Regions from separate parts of the Homo sapiens genome. Here region 1 is linked to region 2. The links are contacts of gene promoters, found by promoter capture Hi-C in blood cells and fetal thymus (Javierre and others, 2016). All regions are on one chromosome and are shown on one strand. Each heading gives the region's core, a stretch centred on a gene start or on the middle of the fragment in contact. The rest is flanking DNA. Distances are from core to core; before and after follow the strand shown.

Region 1 (3,080 bases), core at 230-2,729, 72 kb before region 2:
CACAGATGCCAATCCAGCTATCCAGTATTCCTCAAATATATTTCTTACTTTTCCATTTCTACCCACACTGTTCCCTCTACTTAGAATGTTATGTCCTGCCACTTTCTACCTATCAAAATCCTACTGGTCCTTGAAGGACTACTGCAAATACCACTGCCTCCACCATACTTTTCTTGGTTCTCATAACTGGATGTAATTGAACCACTTAGCCTAAAACTTGCCCATAGAAAGGGCTCAATAAACTGTTAGTTTTAATAGGCAAGGTGGAAAAGAGTACCTGTGCTTTGGGCTGGTCGGTTTGTTTAAGACTCTTACTCTTCTCAATCTTGCAGAGCTGAGCTTTGGCCTTTTTTAGGAGGCTGGCAACCCTCTTGTCAGTCATTGGAAGCTTGTCTGCCTGAGCCAACATGGAGCCTATGGAGGAAGTGGAATGTTTAACAGTGCTAGATGAAGGAGTGGAAAGGCAGAGGGTTTTCTCCTTCTCCAGGGATGGGGCAGTTGGGCCGAGGTCCAAGTTGGTTTTTTCCAGATTTCCTCTCCCTTTCTTTATAAGTATTTTGGTTTTGACAGCTGTTGTATCCCCAAGAGTCACAGAAGTAATATCAGTCCCAGAATCATGTGATGAAGACTTCTTCCGCCCTGTTGCTTTTTTGGCAGAAGATGAAGTGGCAACATCTTCACCAACAACCTTCTCTTTGGAAACCCTACCCACAGGATACAAAGCAGAACTACTCTGAATTTCTGATCCCTTTTTCCTTTTCTCTTTCCTTGACTCCCGCTTATTCTCCTTTTCTCTCTCCCGGTCTCTCTCTCTACTCTTGTCCTTCTCCACGCTCTTGTCAGCATCTCGATCTTTGGACAGCTCCTCGGGGGCCTTGTCTTTATTTCTCCCTCTTTCAGTCTGAGAGCCTGGGGTAAACCAAGGGAAGAGAGGAGTAGGACTACTTGATGAAAATGGCTCTGCCGGAGCACTAGTCTGCTTCCTTGGTCTCTGATTTTTCTCTGCAGATTCCCCAGACTGAGTCAGGGAATGAGAAGGAAAAGTAAAAGTTGGGTTTAAGGCACTAGTGGCAAGAGGACTAACAGAAATGCTTAACGAGGAAGAGACAGAAGACGGGGGGGTGAGAGGTGAGAGCTCAGAACTACTAAGCCTTCCACTTCTTGTCCTCATGGAGTGAGAAGGAGATCTTGGTTCAGATCGAATAGGACTAAACACTTTTCTTTTCCTTTTTCTATTGGATACTCCTGAAGAAGATGTTCCAGCAGAAGTTCGATTACTAGGCAAGGTTACAGACTCAAATATTCTAGAGTGAGCCTCACTTGGAGTAAATCTTGGAGCTCTCAGAAGAGGGCTCCTTTTGTGCATATCAAACCTTGTTCCAGAATGGAGTGGCGAAAACAATCGGGCTGAAGCAGCGGTACCAGATGCAGAAAAACCAGATGCAAAGCCAACGTCCTCGGGAGTTAGTGGAGGGGGTCGGAAATTATCAAATATTGGTTTGCGAATAAGACCTTCTTTGGCATACTTTGCTGAGGAAAAGTATTGTGGCTCTGACCTAGAATGCTTTAAAGAAGTCCACCTAAATGTCGGTTCTCGCAAAATAGATTTTCGCTTCCCTTGCATAGGAGCAGTGGAAGCAGGCAAAAATGGTGATGCTAAGGGGATTGTTGGAGGCATAAGCCAAGGTGTGTGGTCAGAGATACTGGAGGCTGGCTGCAGTGGTGGCGGTGGAGTCAGCAGAGGTGGAGGTGGAGACGAGGAGGTCTGCTGCTGGGGGGCACTTTGTAGAGTTGATAATTTTTTCGTCGTTCTAGATCCAAAACTTCTCTCCGACACTGAATACCTTCTGCTTCTCCTATCATTACTCTCATTTTCTGGGGACTGGGAAATGGGCAGTGGAGGATGAACTTCAGGGGTATCGCTCCGCTCCTCAGGAAGTACCTGAATCTCCTCAGAAGCCTGAGAGTCTGTGGAGGTATCAACACTGGGGCTACTAGATCGAGAGGAGTCTGAAGACATTTGAGAGGAGTGCTGAGAAGCTGCACTTGATTTTTCAGAAGATCCACAGGACGGGGCACTGAATCTACTATTCGGTGTAGACTCTAATCGGGCAATTTTAATTGGAGGGTCATAATCCTCATCCTCTATAAACCGCCGAGGGGTCTTAATGATCCGCGAGGAGATAGCACTGACAACAGGCATGATGAACTGTCGAATATTTTTGACCTGTGTCTTCACCTTTCTTCCCTGCAGCTGAGCTGCTTCTTTTTCAATTTTCTTTTGAGCCCCCTTTTTTGCCCTCTGTAAGAGTTGCTTAGCAATGGTTGCATCTGTCCTTTTTGAAGAAGGAATAATCCTAACTGGCTTAATCCTTCGAGGGCTTTGTCTGACAACTGTCTTATCTTCTTTTGTAAGTGGAGGTGTTCCTTCCTTGTCTTTCCGGACTTTCTGGGGCTTTTCCAGTTCAGAATTAATGAGGAGACCCGAAGGGGTCTTTATCCTTTCTGTTGATGGAGGCCTTCCTCTCCGTCGTACAATTTGTACCCCCTTCCTTCCTATTTGAAGCTTCCCTGTCTTAAACTTAGACTTGAGAGGAGAGAGTTTACCTGCTCTTAATTTTTTAATCTTTGTGGCTTGCTGAAACGTAGCAGAAGGTGTCCTTTTAATTTTTTTCAGGCTATCTTCTTTGTTTCCCTTTGGTAACTCTGAAATGTCCTTTCCATGTGTTATTTTGATTTTTACTCCAGGGAAGGTGGGAGGTCTTCCTCTCTTCTTTTCTATACTTTTAGAATCTTTCTTCTTGATCTTATCTCCAGATTTGGTCTCTGATTTATTTAGAGGGGAAAACACAGATGGATCTGAGAGGATAGCTGAATTTCGGTCAGAGCCACTTCTAGGTCTCCCACGAGGTTTTCGAGGACTAGTTTTAACTGTGTATAGAAATTAAACAATGAAGAGCATATATTTAGCTGTGTAGTTTAGGTTTTAACTAAGCTGAATATAACTTAGCACTGGCCATTTTGTACTGAGTTCAACTTGAGTCTAATGAGTCAATCAAACATCTTAATTGTGCTTAGTT
Region 2 (3,307 bases), core at 620-3,119:
GCCCAGGCTGGAATGCAGTGGTGCAATCCTGACTCACTGCAACCTCCGCCTCCGGGGTTCAAGCGATTCTCCTGCCTCAGCCTCCCAAGTAGCTGCGATTACAGACATGCACCACCAAGCCTGCCTAATTTTTGTATTTTTTGTAGAGATGGGGTTTCACTATGTTGGCCAGGCTGGTCTCGAACTCCTGCCCTCAAGTGATCTGCCCGCCTTGGCCTCCCAAAGTGCTGAGATTACAGGCGTAAGCTACCGCCGCAGGGCCATCTCTTTTGATTTATATAAAATTGTAGAGCTCTATGACAGGTATCTTAACAATCTTAGTAAAGTAAAAGATTTTCTTGCAAGCTTATGAAATTATTTGGGAAAATGTGTAAAATGTTTCACTAGTAGGCTGTGAGGTTCTGCAGGACAGCCTTCAATAACTCATAGTTTGGCTGGTGATGGAGGGAAGGGAGGAGAGAATGGATAAATTACCCGGCTGGCGCTGTGGCTCACACCTGTAACTCTGGCACTTTAGGAGACCGAGGCGGGAGGATCCCTTGAGCCCAGGAGTTAAGAGACTAGCCTGGGCAACATGGTGAAATCCCGTCTCTTAAAACATACAAAAATTAGCTGGGTGTGGTGGTGCGTGCCTGTGATCCCAGCTACTCAGGAGGCTGAGGTGGGAGGATCGCTTGAGCCTAGGAGGTGGAGGCTGCAGTGAGCTGTGATCTGCACTGCACTCCAGCCTGGGCGACAGAGTGAGTCCCTGTCTTCTAGGAAAAAAAAAAAAAAAAAAGAAAGAAAGAAAAAGAAAATACCCAAACCAAACTCAAACACAGCAAAATAGGCTAGAAAGTATTACATTTTTTTTGAAGTTCTGCTTTCTATTCACATTTCATAAACGTAGGCAAAAGTTAAGAGATCCGACCTTCAGTCACTTACTGGAATACAGCACATCTAGGAAAAACTTACGTCAATTTAGCTTATCTCACTTCAGGAATAAAATGAATAGCTTGCCACTGAGAAGACAACTGAAATATTTACTGGCCAAATAAACTAGTACTCAGAGGCTGTGATTATTCAGGGTTGTTGTGAAATACAGCGGTCTACCAGTGAGGCTCTTCAAGCTGAAAAAATTCCACGAATGCTAAGCTTCGTAACAAAGATTATTGTTTATACGGATCCCGTCCTATGCTTCTCGGGGCATGGATACTCATCCATGAAGTCCATTTCCACCTAAAATTTCCCTCGGATTAAAGCGGAAGTATCTTAGAATCCGTCTAGGACAGAAAGCAAAGTCAACGTTCAAAAAAGCTCACCCATCCTTAAACATTTCTGTTGACTTCCAAATACTCCACTGAGAACAACACCACATGTAATGAGGCCGAATTGATTTACTTTCACGTTTCTGCCCTTCCTTTTCTTAGCTCTCCTAACAGAACCATCCCCTCTAGATCCCTGCTCTTAGCGATCTCAGGGGGCGTAATGGTTGCAGCTGCCGGGCAACGCCGGGCTTCCTTCACACTACCTCTCTTCCCAGTCGTGGTTAGAATTCAGGAACTTCTAGGTTGTGTAGAGAACCCAATCTGCAGGTCAGACGAGTGGAAGGCTAGAAAAGAGTCGCCAACCTGCTTCCTGCTCCCTCCACCTGCAGGCCATCCCGCCCCGGCACCCGCAGGCCCCTCGGGTCTTCGCAGCCCGCTTCTTCCTCTCAGGCCATCGCAGGCCTCCCTGCCGCCCGTGTGCCCGCCTCGGCGGTCTCACATCGCGCTCACCGTTCACCAGCGCCGGGGTCTTCTCCACAAGGTTACGGACAAATTGGGCCATGGTTCTGGAATGGAGAGTCCGTCGCCCCGAACCGCCGGCTGAATGTCACCCGCCGGAAGGACCCGCTGCAGGACCCCGTCCCACTTCCAAGGTCAGGCCGCCTCTTTTCGCGCCGGTCGAAGATACTTAAATGTCCAAAGATCTTTGCAGAATCCAGCCTGTCAATTTAATTTTTCAACATGGAAGAGAAAGTGGATATGAAAAGATGGTATTAGAGAGCATGTGAAGAACAGTAGGATTCCGCAGAGAAGCAGGCATTTTGTGGGGCAGCCACTCGTAGAGGTCCGGAAAACCGGCAAGGAGCGGAAATGCGCATGCGCCCTGAACCTGCAGTGCTTTTCTTGGCGCCGACCTCCGCTATTTTGCGTAGGGTGCTTTCGCCGCGATTCTGAGAACCTTTGAAGTCAGTACTGGAGAAGGATTCGCTGAGATTCTTCTAGTCCAACACGATCGTTGTACAGAGGTAGAGAGGGTCCAAGGCCAAACATATAAAGTTAGGGGCCGAGCAATCACCACACAGGCTGTCACCAGGCTCAACCCATAGCCCTTTTTATTTGAGACAGTCTCGCTCTGTCGCCCAGGCTGAAGTGCAGTGGCACGACTTCGGCTCACTGCAACCTCTGTCCCCCGGGTTCCAGCGATTGTTGTGCCTCAGTCTCCCTAGTAGATGGGACTACAGGCGCCCGCCACCACGCCTGGCTAATTTTTGTACTTTTAGTAGAGACGGTGTTTCACCATGTTGGCCAGGCTGGTCTCGAACTCCTAGCTTCAAGTGATCCACCCGCCTTGGTGCTGGGATTACAGGCGTGAATCACCGCGCCTGGCCCCATAGCCCTTTTAAAGTTGATTTTTTGTAATCCCAATCTCCCCAAAGTGCTGTATCACGATTGGAATCCATTTCCCCTAATTCCCTAGTTAACCACAAGGAGCTGTGCAGATGTGAGGAAAAAATCACCTGTATTGAACGCCCACACTATGCCAGGCATTTTGGAATTTAAAGAAAGCCTGTAAGGCATTGTCCCCATTGAGACTGGGCTTGAAAAATGGCCACACAGTTTGGAAGTGGCAGAGTTGAGATCTGAAGTTGCAATGTATACTCAGAGAGGGGGCATTCCATCAGATTAGGCATGGTGCTGATTTCAGCATACTTCCTAGAAAAGATCCTTGAGCCGATGTGTAAGAGAACAGCTGTATACTACAGAGGGCTGAAACTTCATAGTTTAATATGAGGAGGAAAAGATGTATGTAGGGAAGTGGCATTTGATGAGAGGAACAGAACTATAAGTAATGTAACCTGGGGAAGTCTGAGCAGAAGTAAATCTCCGATTTTTGGAATGGTTAGAGAGATGGAAAGAAAAATTAGAAGTGTAATCAAGGAACTAAGAACTTTTCAATGAAGGAGTGATTCTGCTGCCCTAGATACTGCAGAAAAGTCAAATTAAGGATGGGAAAGTTAATTTAGCAATATGGCAATCTTTAACTAACTAGCGCCTTTTCA

Evidence for each region. Contacts are between HindIII fragments. The CHiCAGO score rates a contact against its expected background, and 5 or more counts as called.
Region 1: a fragment that was not itself captured here is called in contact with the fragment with the promoter of ATP5MG in region 2 in 8 of 17 cell types (activated CD4 T cells, megakaryocytes, naive CD4 T cells and 5 more); the score reaches 6.8 in activated CD4 T cells.

Annotation. Positions count from the first base shown.
Region 1 is chr11:118,471,513-118,474,592 of GRCh38, reverse strand. KMT2A (lysine methyltransferase 2A) reads right to left here. Exons shown (of 36, transcript NM_001197104.2): 3 at 278-2,931. Among named protein-coding and RNA genes, the nearest start is that of KMT2A, 37 kb to the right of the region's middle. The HindIII fragment of the contact is 2,178 bases long and covers 391-2,568 here.
Region 2 is chr11:118,400,168-118,403,474 of GRCh38, reverse strand. ATP5MG (ATP synthase membrane subunit g) reads right to left here and starts at 1,869. Exons shown (of 3, transcript NM_006476.5): 1 at 1,758-1,869. The coding sequence starts at 1,809. All of the region lies in intron 3 of LOC100131626 (a long non-coding RNA gene), which reads left to right. RefSeq lists enhancers at 96-686, 1,145-2,008, 2,129-2,208. The HindIII fragment of the contact is 3,431 bases long and covers 1,137-3,307 here.